Regions from separate parts of the Homo sapiens genome. Here all the other regions are linked to region 1. Evidence: promoter capture Hi-C in 16 types of primary human blood cells and fetal thymus (Javierre and others, 2016). All regions are on one chromosome and are shown on one strand. The core of a region is centred on a gene start or on the middle of the fragment in contact, and the rest is flanking DNA. Distances in the headings are between cores, read along the strand shown. Region 1 holds the start of TMC4 (transmembrane channel like 4). Region 2 has its middle 18 kb from the start of TTYH1. Region 3 has its middle 9.0 kb from the start of LILRA4. Region 4 has its middle 11 kb from the start of LILRA5.

Region 1 (3,262 bases), core at 549-3,048:
AAGACTTGTTGGTCCTGGGAGAGGAAGGGCAGTGGAATATAAAATGTTAAATCTTTAAAGAAGAAGAGGGTCTTGATAGGACTGAGTGTGTATGGAAGGCTGCGAGCTCCTGGATCCCTGAAGGAGACAGAGGCCTGTAGCCTCCTCCGCCTTCCGGAGCTAGGGTCATGGGTCTGAGTGGGGAGGGCCTGGGGCCTGGTCTCCTGGATCTGAGGGAGGAGGGAGGTGGGGTCTGGTCTCCTGGATCTGAGGGAGGAGGGAAGTGGGGTCTGGACTCCTGGATCTGAGGGAGGAGGGAGGTGGGGTCTGGTCTCCTGGGTCTGAGGGAGGAGGGACTGGGGCCTGATCTCCTGGGTCTGAGGGAGGAAGGGGTGGGGTCTGGACTCCTGGGTCTGAGGGAGGAGGGGCTGGGCCTGCACTTCTCGGTCTGAGGGAGGAGGGGCTGGGGTCCTGGACTCCTGGATCTGGGGGCAGTGGGCACTGGGGACCTGGACTCGTAGGTCCTGACTCCCAGCCTCCTCCTCAGGAGCGCCTGGACCATGCTGCTGAGCGCCTACTGGCACGGCCTCCACCCGGGCTACTACCTGAGCTTCCTGACCATCCCGCTGTGCCTGGCTGCCGAGGGCCGGCTGGAGTCAGCCCTGCGGGGGCGGCTGAGCCCAGGGGGCCAGAAGGCCTGGGACTGGGTGCACTGGTTCCTGAAGATGCGCGCCTATGACTACATGTGCATGGGCTTCGTGCTGCTCTCCTTGGCCGACACCCTTCGGTACTGGGCCTCCATCTACTTCTGTATCCACTTCCTGGCCCTGGCAGCCCTGGGGCTGGGGCTGGCTTTAGGTGGGGGCAGCCCCAGCCGGCGGAAGGCAGCATCCCAGCCCACCAGCCTTGCCCCGGAGAAGCTCCGGGAGGAGTAAGCTGTCACGACGCTCCCTCTGCCAGCTGGTCCCGGGAATTCTGTGAACCAGGCTGCTGTCTCCTCCCCAGAAAGAGTCCTTACCTTGGAGAGGGTCCTGGAGAGAATTTCCTCTTCCCCAGCTAAATACCCTGCCTGCAACTGAAGCAGACCCGGGGGTGTCCTCCCTGCCCTCTGCCCAGAGGCCACCTCCACTCCTACAAAATCAAAGTATTGTCCAGACAAGAGTCACTGGCCCCTGCTCCAGCTTCTGGGTATCCAGAGAGCACTGCACTTCCCCAAAACGGAAGGGGCCCCTGGGCAGTGGGTTTTGGGCAAATTCCCTTTCTTTGCATCCACAATGTGGGGTCGGAGCTTGGGGGCAGGTCCTGGGAGTGGGAAGCCTCTTCCTTGTGTCTTTCGCTCCACTTTTAGCTCATCGCACCAATATTGCAGACTTGGAAGGAAGCATAAGCTTCCCATTTCACAAAGGGGAAACTGAGGTGCGGGTGCGCGGGCCTGGGGACGGCCGTCCCATGGCTTCCATCTGAGCCACCTCGGGACCCCAGCACTCCTGGCGCCCTCTTCTCATCGCTTGGCCTATGACAGGTCACCGTGTGTAAATCTTTCCCAATAAAGTGTTGCACAAAGGCATCGTGTCCGTGCAGGTATCTGGGTGATAAACGGTGGGAAGGACTTAGTCCACCAAGTCCCAGGGTGAGGTACAGCCCCCCCGCCCAGCCCAGGAACCAAACTGTGAGGCCCGGGGCACCACGGGGACTTCAGCTCCCAGGAGACCTTTCGCATCAGCGGCCCTGAGAAACCACAGGAAGTGTACCTTACTCCCTCCGGGCCACCTGCTGGCCAGGTACACACCTGCCCCTGGCCCCTCCCTTACCTGGGGCAGTGTCTGCCTGGTGGCCACTAGAGACAGCCCAGCCTGGGGCCATGGAAGAAAACCCGACCTTGGAATCAGAAGCCTGGGGCTCCTCTAGGGAGTGGCTGGCCCCCCGGGAGGCCAGAGGAGGTAGGGAATGCCAGGAGAAGCTCAGATCCATCCGACCTTCAGGCTAGGTGGGAGTCCTGCTGGAGGAGGAAAGGGGAGGCCTGGCCTCCTGAGTCTGAGGGCTAAAGAGAGAAGGTTCCACTTCCTGATATTATGGGGGAGAAGGGAACTGGAGGCTGGAACTCCAGGGTCTGAGGAGGAGGAGCCTGGAGAACCAGGCTAGTCTGGGAGGAGGGGAGGGCTAAGGGCTGGGAGTTTGGGTGTCTTGGGAATAGGAGAGGCTGGGTTCCCACACTCCTGAGCTAGAGGGAAAAGGAAGTTAAAGCCTGGACTCCACTGCCCTGGAGTAGGAGGGTTCCACGCTTGGGGATGGAGTTGAGGGCTGTGGACCCCTGGGTCCAGGGGAAGTAGAGGCTGGCACCCGGACTCCTGGGCCTGAGGGAGGAGGGGCTGGGAACCTGGTTTCCTGGTCTGAGGGAGGAGGGGCTGGGTGCCTGGATTCCTATGTCTGAGGGAGGAGGAGCCGGGGGCCTGGACTCCTGGGTCTGAGGGAGGAGGGGCCGGGGGCCTGTTCTCCTGGGTCTGAGGGAGGAGGAGCCGGGGGCCTGGACTCCTGGGTCTGAGGGAGGAGGCGCCGGGGGCCTGTTCTCCTGGGTCTGAGGGAGGAGGAGCCGGGGGCCTGGACTCCTGGGTCTGAGGGAGGAGGAGCCGGGGGCCTGGACTCCTGGGTCTGAGGGAGGAGGAGCCGGGGGCCTGGACTCCTGGGTCTGAGGGAGGAGGAGCCGGGGGCCTGGACTCCTGGGTCTGAGGGAGGAGGAGCCGGGGGCCTGGACTCCTGGGTCTGAGGGAGGAGGAGCCGGGGGCCTGGACTCCTGGGTCTGAGGGAGGAGGGGCCGGGGACCTGGTTTCCTGGTCTGAGGGAGGAGGAATTAGGGCCCAGACTCCCGGGTCTTCCCAGCCCCCTGCTCCTCCCCAGGCCCATCGCTGTCTTCTGTGCTGAACGAGCTGCCCAGTGCTGCCACCCTTCGGTACCGAGACCCTGGGGTGCTGCCTTGGGGGGCGCTGGAGGAGGAGGAGGAGGATGGAGGAAGGAGCAGAAAGGCCTTCACAGAAGTCACCCAGACAGAGCTGCAGGACCCTCACCCTTCCCGGGAACTGCCCTGGCCCATGCAGGCCAGACGGGCACACAGGTGAGGCCCCACCTCCAGCTGGGACCCGCACAGCCCGGACCGGGCCCTTCTCCCATACCCTGGACTCGGTCTCCTCCCTCTGTCCTCTGCCGCTCCTGGCTTCTGGGGCCTCTCTCTGCCCCGCTCAGAGCTGCCTCTCTTGGTTTCTTTCTTCCCCTCATCTTTGTCTCTACT
Region 2 (3,262 bases), core at 554-3,053, 220 kb before region 1:
GCTGAGGCAGGAGAATGGCGTGAACCCGGGAGGTGGAGCTTACAGTGAGCTGAGATCGAGCCACTGCACTCCAGCCTGGGTGACAGGGTGAGACTCCGTCTCAAAAAAAGAAAAAGAAAGAAATAGAAAATAAAATCTTGGGTCTTTCTTTTGATATCTTGATCAAGAAAGTTTGATCACTTTACCAAACATGTATTATGTATTTTTCATAAATAAAAGAGAATTTATAAAACAGCTTGAATCATGAAACATTAACGAAACGGCCTCACTTAGCCCACCATCCAATTAAGAGCTACAATCTCATCCCGACCACCTCATCTACCTGGAATCTCCTTCCATTCTCATCCTCCACTTTCCTCCTCTGCAGAAGTAACTGTGCTTGTCGTTCCCTTATTTGTTTTATTTTATTATTTTATTTTATTCTACTTTAAGTTCTGAGACAGAGTCTCACACTGTTGCCCAGGCTGGAGTGCGGTGGAATGATCTCGGCTCACTGCAAACTCTGCCTCCCAGGTTCAAGTAATTCTCCTGCCTCAGCCTCCCGAAGAGCTGGGATTACAGGCGCGCACCACCATGCCTGGCTAATTCTTGTATTTTCAGTAGAGACGGGGTTTCACCATGTTGTCCAGGCTGGTCTCAAACTCCTGACCTCAGGTGATCTGCCCGCCTCAGCCTCCCAAAGTGCTGGGATTATAGGCGTGAGCCACTGCACCTGGCCCCTTATTTGTTTAAAATAGTGTCTCTAAACCACATATTGGAATGAACTTGGTAAAAATGACAACAGAAACCATGAATTTTTTTTTGAAATGATTCGTGAAATCATTTTCAATGCCATAGTTTGAAGCTTTCCAATATAGGTCTATATCACAGTTTTTGTATTTTTGTACCTGTTGATGAACACATGGGCTTCTTTTATTTTAGTTACTTTTCTATTTCTATTTATTTTACTTTCCCTATTACGTAACAGACATTTTTTACATGTTTCTTGGTGCATATGTGCAAGAATTTTTAAAGAGTATACATATAAGAATGGAATGATTGCGCTATAGGGATTGTTAGTTTCAATTTTTTGAAATAGTGTCAAAGTGTTTCCAAAAGTAGCCTTACCAATTTTTTCCTGGCTTAATTGAGATATGATTGACAAATAAAAGCGTATATATTTGGTCAGGCGCGGTGGCTCATGCCTGTAATCCCAGCATTTTGGGAGGCCGAGGCGGGTGGATCACAAGGTCAGGAGATCGAGACCATCCTGGCTAACACGGTGAAACCCCGTCTCTACTAAAAAAAAAAATACAAAAATTAGCCGGGCGCCTGTAGTCCCAGCTACTCGGGAGGCTGAGGCAGGAGAATGGTGTGAAGCCGGGAGGCGGAGATTGCAGTGAGCCGAGATTGCGCCACTGCACTCCAGCCTGGGCGACAGAGCGAGACTCCGTCTCAAAAAGAGAAGTGTATATATTTAAGGTGTACAACATGATGTTTTGACATATGTACACATTGTGAAATAATTACCATAATCAAGATGTTTAACATATCCATCACCTCACTTTTTTTTCTGAGACAGAGTCTCATTCTGTCACTCAGCCTAGAGTGCAGTGGTGCGATCTCAGCTCACGGCAAACTCCACCTCCCACGTCAAGTGATTCTTGTGCCTCAGCCTCCCGAGTAGCTGGGATTACAGGTGTGTGCCACCACGTCTGGCTAATTTTTGTATTTTTTGTAGAGATGGGGTTTGGCCATGTTGCCCAGGCTGGTCTCAAACTGCTGACCTCAAGTGATCCACTTGCCTCAGCCTCCCAAAGTGCTTGGATTATAGGTGTGAGCCACCGTTCGTGGCCACATAGTTGTCATTTTTGCGTGTGTGGCGAGAGCCCTTACGATCTATTCTGCTAACAATGTTTAAGTACATAATACATTTTCACTAATTTGTCACCATGTTGCACAACAGATCTCTTGAATTTATTTTTTTCTATCTAAAATTGTGTACCCTCTGACCACGATCTTCCCAATCCCTACTCCCCTTCCCAAGCCCCTGGTCACCACCATTCCGCTCTCTGCTTCTGTGAGTTCAACTTTTTTTTTTTTTTTTTTTTTGAGACAGAGTCTCACTCTGTCGCCCAGGCTGGAGTGCAGTGGCGCAATCTCGGCTCACTGCAACCTCCGCCTCCCAGGTTCAAGCCATTCTCCTGCCTCAGCCTCCCGAGTAGCTGGGATTACAGGCATGCACCACCACGCCTGGCTAATTTTGAATTTTTAGTAGAGACGGGGTTTCTCCATATTGGTCAGGCTGGTCTCGAACTCCCAACCTCAGGTGATCTGCCCGCCTTGGTCTCCCAAAGTGCTGACAGGCGTGAGCCACCGTGCCCAGCCTCCCGAGTAGGTTTTGCCATGTTGGCCATGGCTAGTCTCGAAGGCCTGAGTTCAACTTTTTAATATTCCATGTATAAGTGAGGTTGTGCGATATTTGTCTTTCTGTATCTGGCTTATTTCATGTGGCATGATGTCCTGAAGGTTGACAATTACATCCATACTGTAAATGACAGGGTTTCCTTCCTTTCTAAGGCTGGATAGTATTTCCACTGTGTATATATACATTTCCTTTACCCATTGTCCACTGATGGAGACTTAGGTGATTCCATATGTTGGCTATTGTGAATAACTCTGCAATACACATAGGGGTGCAGACATCTCTTCCACACACTGGTTTCAGTTTCTTTGAGCATATACCCAGTAGTGGGATTGCTGCATCATGGAGGGTAAGCTTTTTTTGTTTTGTTTTGAGACAGAGTCTCGCTCTGTCGCTCAGGCTGGAGTGCAGCAATCTCGGCTCACTGCAAGTTCCGCCTCCCGGGTTCAAACTATTCTCCTGCCTCAGCCTCCCGAGTGGCTGGGACTACAGGTGCCTGCCACCACGCCCGGCTAATTTTTTGTATTTTTAGTAGAGATGGGGTTTCGCCATGTTGGCTAGGCTGGTCTCGATCTCCTGACCTCAGGGGATCCGCCTGCCTCAGCCTCCCAAAGTGCTGGGATTACAGGCGTGAGCCACCGCGCCCGGCCACAAAAGCAAATTTATGACAGGGACCTGGTGATGCGTGCTGCATCACACCACATCCTTCCATTCCTTTTCACAAAGAGACTCTAGTGGCTCATGCCTGTAATCCCAGCACTTTGGGAGGCCGAAGCGGGCGGATCACAAGGTCAGGAGTTCGAGACCAGCCTAGCCAACATGGCGAAACCCCATCTCTACTAAAAACACAAAAATTAG
Region 3 (3,262 bases), core at 763-3,262, 170 kb before region 1:
TCCATCCATCCACCCTCAGGGTCTGTGTGCTCCCTCCATGCATCCTCAGGATCTGTGTCCTCCCTCCATCCATCCTCAGGATCTGTGTCCTCCCTCCATCCACCCTCAGGATCTGTGTCCTCCCTCCATGCATCCTCAGGATCTGTGTCCTCCCTCCATCCATCCTCAGGATCTGCGTCCTCCCTCCATCCATCCTCAGGATCTGCGTCCTCCCTCCATCCACCCTCAGGATCTGCGTCCTCCCTCCATCCATCCTCAGGATCTGCGTCCTCCCTCCATCCATCCTCAGGATCTGTGTCCTCCCTCCATCCATCCTCAGGATCTGTGTCCTCCCTCCATCCGTCCACCCTCAGGATCTGCATCCTCCCTCCATCCATCCTCAGGATCTGCGTCCTCCATCCATCCACCCTCAGGATCTGCGTCCTCCCTCCATCCACCCTCAGGATCTACGTCCTCCCTCCATCCATCCTCAGGATCTGTGTCCTCCCTCCACGCATCCTCAGGATCTGTGTCCTCCCTCCATCCACCCTCAGGATCTGTGTCCTCCCTTCATCCATCCTCAGGATCTGTGTCCTCCCTCCATCCACCCTCAGGATCTGTGTCCTCCCTCCATCCATCCACCCTCAGGATCTGTGTCCTCCATCCATCCATCCACCCTCAGGATCTGTTTCCTCCCTCCATCCATCCTCAGGATCTGTGTCCTCCCTCCATGCATCCTCAGGATCTGTGTCCTCCCTCCATCCATCCTCAGGATCTGTGTCCTCTCTCCATCCACCCTCAGCGCCCTCTTTCAGAAGATCTGCCCAGAGCATTCTGGTCTTCTTGATGGCCTGGTCTCTCGGTGGGAGAAGCTCTTCCTGGCTATGTGTGGTCAGCCATTGTGGTCCTTTTCTGGTCTTTGAATGTTTCTATAACAGCACTTATAATCATTTGCAGTAACATACAGTTGAGCTTTGAACTCCACAGGTTTGAACTGTGCAGGTCCACTTGTATACAGATTTTCTTTCAATCATAGTTACACGAGTGTGCCTGCCTTTCCTGCTTCCCCTCCCACCTGTTTTACCGCATTTTCTTTTTCTTTAGGTTTTATCTTTAAGTTTATGAGTTATATTTAAAAATATTTTTGCATCATATCTATTCAAGAAAATACACTTATATTTCTAAACCAAAACAAGAAACAAGACACAATTATATCCGTCTAATTTTATTTAATCTCTTCTGCATGGTTTCTCTCTCTCACACAAGTATCCACTTTTAAAGGTTTAGGTCAGGCATGGTGGCTCACGCCTGTAATCCCAGCACTTTGGGAGGCCAAGGCGAGCAGATCACCTGAAGTCAGGAGTCCAAGACCAGCCTGGCCAACATGGTGAAACCCTGTCTCTACTAAAAATTTAAAAAAAAAGAAAATTGGCCAGTGTGGTGGTTGTCAGGCCTCTGAGCTGAAGCTCAGCTATTGTAACCCCTGTGACCTGCACATATACACCCAGATGGCCTGAAGGAGCCAAGAAGTCTGGGGCAGCCGAAAAACCACAAAAGAAGTAAAACAGCCAGTTCCTGCCTTAACTGATTAACCAACATTACGACATTCCACCATTGTGACTTGTCCCTGCCCCACCTTAACCGATCAATCAACTTTGTGACATTCTTCTTCTGGATAATAAGTCTTACGATGTCCCCACCAGGTACCTTGTGACCTCCTCCTCTGCCAACAATAGATGACCACCTTTTACCGTAATTTTCCATCACCTACCCAACTCCTATAAAGCAACCCCTTCCCCATCTCCCTTCGCTGACTCCTTTCTCAGACTCAGTCCACCTGCACCCAGGTGAATTAAAAGCTTTATTGCTCATACAAAGCCTGTTTGCTGGTCTCTTCACATGGACACGCTTGGCAGTGGTGCATGCCTGTAATCCCAGCTACCCAGGAGGCTGAGGCAGGAGAATCGCTTGAACCCAAGAAGTCAAGGTTGCAGTGAGCAGAGATCGTGCCATTGCACTCCAGCCTGGGTGACAGCATGAGACGCTGTCAGGAAAAAAAAAAACAAAAAACAAAACAAAAAAACTTGACGGGAGGGTTAATTACCATCTTCCTACAACGAGGAAAATGGATGGGGCAGGGGAGGATGTCACCTGCTGAAGGTCAACTGACAGTAAGTATGAACCCTCATGCCTTAAACCAAAGCTTGGGAATTTCTTCCAGTGAATGCTTTGGCCCAAAGCATGGAGACAGAATTCACGGTATCAAATGAAGAGTTATGGACAGGGGAAGAAGAGGTTGTAAATGACTTGGAGATTTGATGGAGTTCCCACTTATAAGTGAGAACATGTGGTATTTGGTTTTCTGTTCCTGTGTTTGTTTACTAAGGATAATGACCTCCAGCTCCATTCACATCTCTGCAACAGACATGATCGCGTTCTGGTGCTGCTACTTATAGAATTAAGAAAGTCGGAGGGAAGAAGTGCTTGGGAGAAACAAAACTAGACAGCAGGGCCAGGAGGGAGACAGTGCTTCCTCTGCACTCCGTGAACAGCCTTATAAATATCTCCCTAGCCTGGTTCTTCCCCGGGATCATTCATCCTGGGATGACACCATTCGTTCCTCCAGTAAACTAAGGCAGAGAGTGAAACAGACCCTAGTTGCTCACTCACTTTTGTTTCACATACAGTGAACAAATCCAAGCAGTTGTACCCTTGAGCCCTCCTCACCCACGTCCCCGGGTCCATTCCCACAGTGCAAGCTCACTGGAGACTGAAGACAGCCTGTCTGTGCCACCACATCAGCCTCCTCCTGGTCCTCTTCTCCAAACCCTCACTCCAGGCTGACATCTATTATTCTCATAGCCCCAACCTTATCTGTAGCTGACTCTTCCCTGATCAAAATCCTTCTCCGGGTCTGAATCTTCCTCCAAGTAAGACACAAGTATCTCTGCCTGATGTTCATGTTGTTGATGACCAGGACTAAGTTAACATCCCCAGCGCCAAAAAACATGGCTCCTTCCTACAGAGCAAATTCATTACAGGAAACCACTTCCGCCTTTTTCCCACCCACCACACCCCAGACAGACACCTGGAGATATTAACATATTTCTGCCTTCTCATAGTCAGCTCCCCGAGAAAATTTTTATTTTTTTATGTTTTAATTATTTATTTATTTATTTATTTATTTGAGACGGAGTCTTGCTCTGTCTACCAGGCTGGAGTGCAGTGGCGCGATCTCGGCTCACTGCAGCCTCCACCTCCAGGGTTCAAGAGATCTGCCATC
Region 4 (3,262 bases), core at 320-2,819, 150 kb before region 1:
TCAGTGCTTGAGTGTCTCTCCAGGGACCTGAGAACCACACATGTAGCCTCTGTGGGGACGGAGCCTGTGCCTAGCATTGGGCCTGAGTACAGGCTTGCCTGGACCAGCCACACTTACCTTCATTTCCCTGCGTTGGAGGCAGAGTACTGATCAAGACCACTGAGTTTTCCACAACCCAACCCATCACTTAGGATACCTGAATGCTTCTGGTTAACAAAGGTCAAGCATAAAGCCCACTGCCAGCGCTACAACTGGCTCTCACCAGCAATTGCCACCTACTGGCCTGGAGGTCAAACCATACAGCACATTACAACGTCTCCTGAAACAAGTGACAGTGATTGGGGAAGAGACAAGTTTCACACAAACTCTGCCACCACCATTGCCCACGCCACCCCAGCTACACCTCTCCTTTGCAGAACCGCTTGAGGAAAGGCTAAACCTTTCTGCAAAGGAGAGGTGTCTAATTCCAGTGCTCGGGGTCTGGAGCCCATGCCACACTTGCCCCTCAGTTCTGTCTGTGGGGACCTGTCCCCTACTTGAGACCAGATTGCCAAGGAGGAGGCCTTAAGTTAACTTGCCTGCTCTGTCACCTACCTGAGCCTGGGAAGGTTGAGGCTGCAGTGATCCAAGATCGTGCCACTGCACTCCACCCTGGGTGACAAAGTGAGACCCTGTCTCAAAAAACAAAAACAAAAAAACTGCTCTGACCTTTTCAAAAGTATCAAGGTCAAGAACAAAGATAAACAAAGGCACCACGCAGTGGAGTAAGAGCCTGTCTATTGCCTATTGCTCTCAAGCGCCATCTACTGGATTACAGCCACACTACAACACCAAAAATCACTTTACTAAATTCTACCGCCTGGAAAACCAAGAGCAAGAATTCAGCAAAGACCCTGTACAGAGCCTTAGTCCCCTGAAAACTTCCAGAAATAAAGCCAACAGACTATACTCAATTTATACCCTTGCAATGAAAGGAATAGCAACCCTCCCAGATGAGAAAAAAAATCAGGGAAATAACTCCTATTATCTCCAAACCAGTCCACGAGCTCCCCAGAAATTGTTCTTAATCAGTATGAATTGTCTGAAATGACAAACGTAGAATTTGGAATCTGGATGGCAAGGAAGGTCATTCAAATCAAGAGCAAAGTTGAAATTCAATCCAAGGAAGCCAAGCAATCCAGTAAAATGATTAATGACATGAACGATTAAATTTTAAGAAACACCCAAACTGAACTTCTCGAGCTGAAAAATTCATGACACGAATTTCATAATACGATGAGAAGCATTAACAGCAGAATAGACCAAGCTGAGGAAAAGAATTTCAAAGCTTGAAGACTTGTTTGAATCAAATCAGTCAAATATAAGGAAAAAATATTTTTAAAAGTGAACAAAATCTCTGAGAAATATGATATTATCTAAAGACACCAAATGTATGACTTGTCAGCATTCCTGAAAGGGGAAGAGAGAATAAGCAACTTGGAAAATATATTTGAGGATATAGTCCATGAATATTTTCCTAAACTCGCTAGAGAGTTTGACACACAAATCCAAGAAACATAGAGACGCCCAGCCAGATAACGGTCTAGATTTGAGGGTATGGTGAAAAAGATGCTTAGAAAATGTCAGAAGTGAGACACAATGGCTCATTTGCTTGTGTCTTGCATTCTCCACCTTGCAATTCTGTACTGATGGCTGTACTATCAGCAGGATCCACTCGTTATTATATTCACTATCAACCTTCAGCCTAAGGGTTTTGGCAGCCATTGATGTTTATTGCTTGTATACTCAACGCACAGGTTATCCAAGCTTTGCAGGGTTAACTATTATTATGCAAAAACTCTACAGCTATTCTTAGGCAAAAACATTACTATAGCTATTACTATACTTATTATTATGTAGAAACATTCTACAGAAAAGAATGTTTCCTGTGTAACACTTCAGATAAACAAAAGAGATCTTGCTTCTTGCCTTCATTTCCACGTTTTTGATGTGGAGATTTTGTTCTTTTCCCATTCCTCATATTTGAGGGGTTTTTTGTTTTTTAATTTTGTTTTTAACAGTAGTAAACTGATAGGCTTTGAACATATTCATTAGTTTTAATACACTACCTATATTATTTGATTCTATAAATATTCCACATTTTGCCATTGGGAACTTTTCATGATAGACTTTATGTTCAGGTAACATGAATCTGATGGTATGTGGTGATGTCTTTGCTTTCTTGCATGATAAGAAGTTCTGACTTCATCTCCTGTATTTTCTCTCCGAATGTGGAGTCAGCTATTTCTCTAGGATGAAATTTAGAATTTTTGACCATACATATTTTAAGAATTAAACATTTTTGAGGGTGTATTCACTTATGTTTTACTATATATAGTCAAAATTATATAATAATATTAACTATATGTCACTACATAATATATAATTTGATTTAAAAGTATACATTTATTATATAATATGATAAATAATATATGCATTATAAAATATATGGTCAAGTAATTTTGCTTACATTCTAGTACAAATAATTCTTCCTTGTTTAGTAATGCCCTAATTTGATAGGAACTCAATTCTATTTCCTTTTTTAAGGTATTATCTTTAGATTTATAAGTTATATTTAAAAATATTTTATAGTATAGACATTCAGGAATATGTTTATATATGTATATATATATATTTTTAAACGGAGTCTTGCTCGTCGCCCAGGCTAGAATGCTGTGGGTGGCAAGCCACCCAGGTGCCGAGGCAAGAGACAGAGGACACGAGCTGTTCCAGTATAATAAAATATAAAACAAGAATAGTTATACCAGATATAGATCTTAGTTATGATTATATATGAATATCATTAATCATTTGTTTGTAGCAGTTACCCTTTATCCCAATATTATAATAATCCTCCCTCTGTAATCATAACCTAGGAAAAGCCAGGCCATACAGAGATAGGAGCTGAGGGGACACAGTGAGAAGTGACCAGAAGACAAGAGTGCGAGCCCTCTGTCATGCCCGGACAGGGCCACCAGAGGGCTCCTTGGTCTAGCGGTGACGCCAGCGTCTGGGAAGACGTCCGTTGCCAAGCGGACCGTGGTCTAGCGGTAGCGTAAGTGGCAAGGAACAACACCCGCTACTTAGCAGACTGGGGAAGGGAGTCTCCCTTTCCCCGGGGGAGTTTAGAGAAGACTCTGCTCCTCCACCTCTTGTGGAGGGCCTGACATCAGTCAGGCTCGCCCGCAGTTATCCGGAGGCCTAACCGTCTCCCTGTGATGCT

The links. Contacts are between HindIII fragments. The CHiCAGO score rates a contact against its expected background, and 5 or more counts as called.
Region 2: a fragment that was not itself captured here is called in contact with the fragment with the promoter of TMC4 in region 1 in 9 of 17 cell types (monocytes, erythroblasts, total B cells and 6 more); the score reaches 9.2 in monocytes.
Region 3: a contact is called between a fragment that was not itself captured here and the fragment with the promoter of TMC4 in region 1, in 1 of 17 cell types (monocytes). The highest score is 5.1, in monocytes.
Region 4: a fragment that was not itself captured here is called in contact with the fragment with the promoter of TMC4 in region 1 in 4 of 17 cell types (M0 macrophages, M1 macrophages, neutrophils and 1 more); the score reaches 8.2 in M0 macrophages.

The regions. Positions count from the first base shown.
Region 1 is chr19:54,171,696-54,174,957 of GRCh38, reverse strand. TMC4 (transmembrane channel like 4) reads left to right here and starts at 1,798. Exons shown (of 15, transcript NM_144686.4): 1 at 1,798-1,919; 2 at 2,875-3,088. The coding sequence starts at 1,841. MBOAT7 (membrane bound acylglycerophosphatidylinositol O-acyltransferase MBOAT7) reads left to right here. Exons shown (of 8, transcript NM_024298.5): 8 at 527-1,543. The coding sequence ends at 914. RefSeq lists enhancers at 43-858, 859-1,675. The HindIII fragment of the contact is 9,651 bases long and covers 1,370-3,262 here.
Region 2 is chr19:54,395,353-54,398,614 of GRCh38, reverse strand. No RefSeq gene overlaps it. Among named protein-coding and RNA genes, the nearest start is that of TTYH1, 18 kb to the left of the region's middle. The HindIII fragment of the contact is 1,914 bases long and covers 847-2,760 here.
Region 3 is chr19:54,346,581-54,349,842 of GRCh38, reverse strand. No RefSeq gene overlaps it. Among named protein-coding and RNA genes, the nearest start is that of LILRA4, 9.0 kb to the right of the region's middle. The HindIII fragment of the contact is 344 bases long and covers 1,841-2,184 here.
Region 4 is chr19:54,322,839-54,326,100 of GRCh38, reverse strand. No RefSeq gene overlaps it. Among named protein-coding and RNA genes, the nearest start is that of LILRA5, 11 kb to the right of the region's middle. RefSeq lists a silencer at 630-924. The HindIII fragment of the contact is 479 bases long and covers 1,330-1,808 here.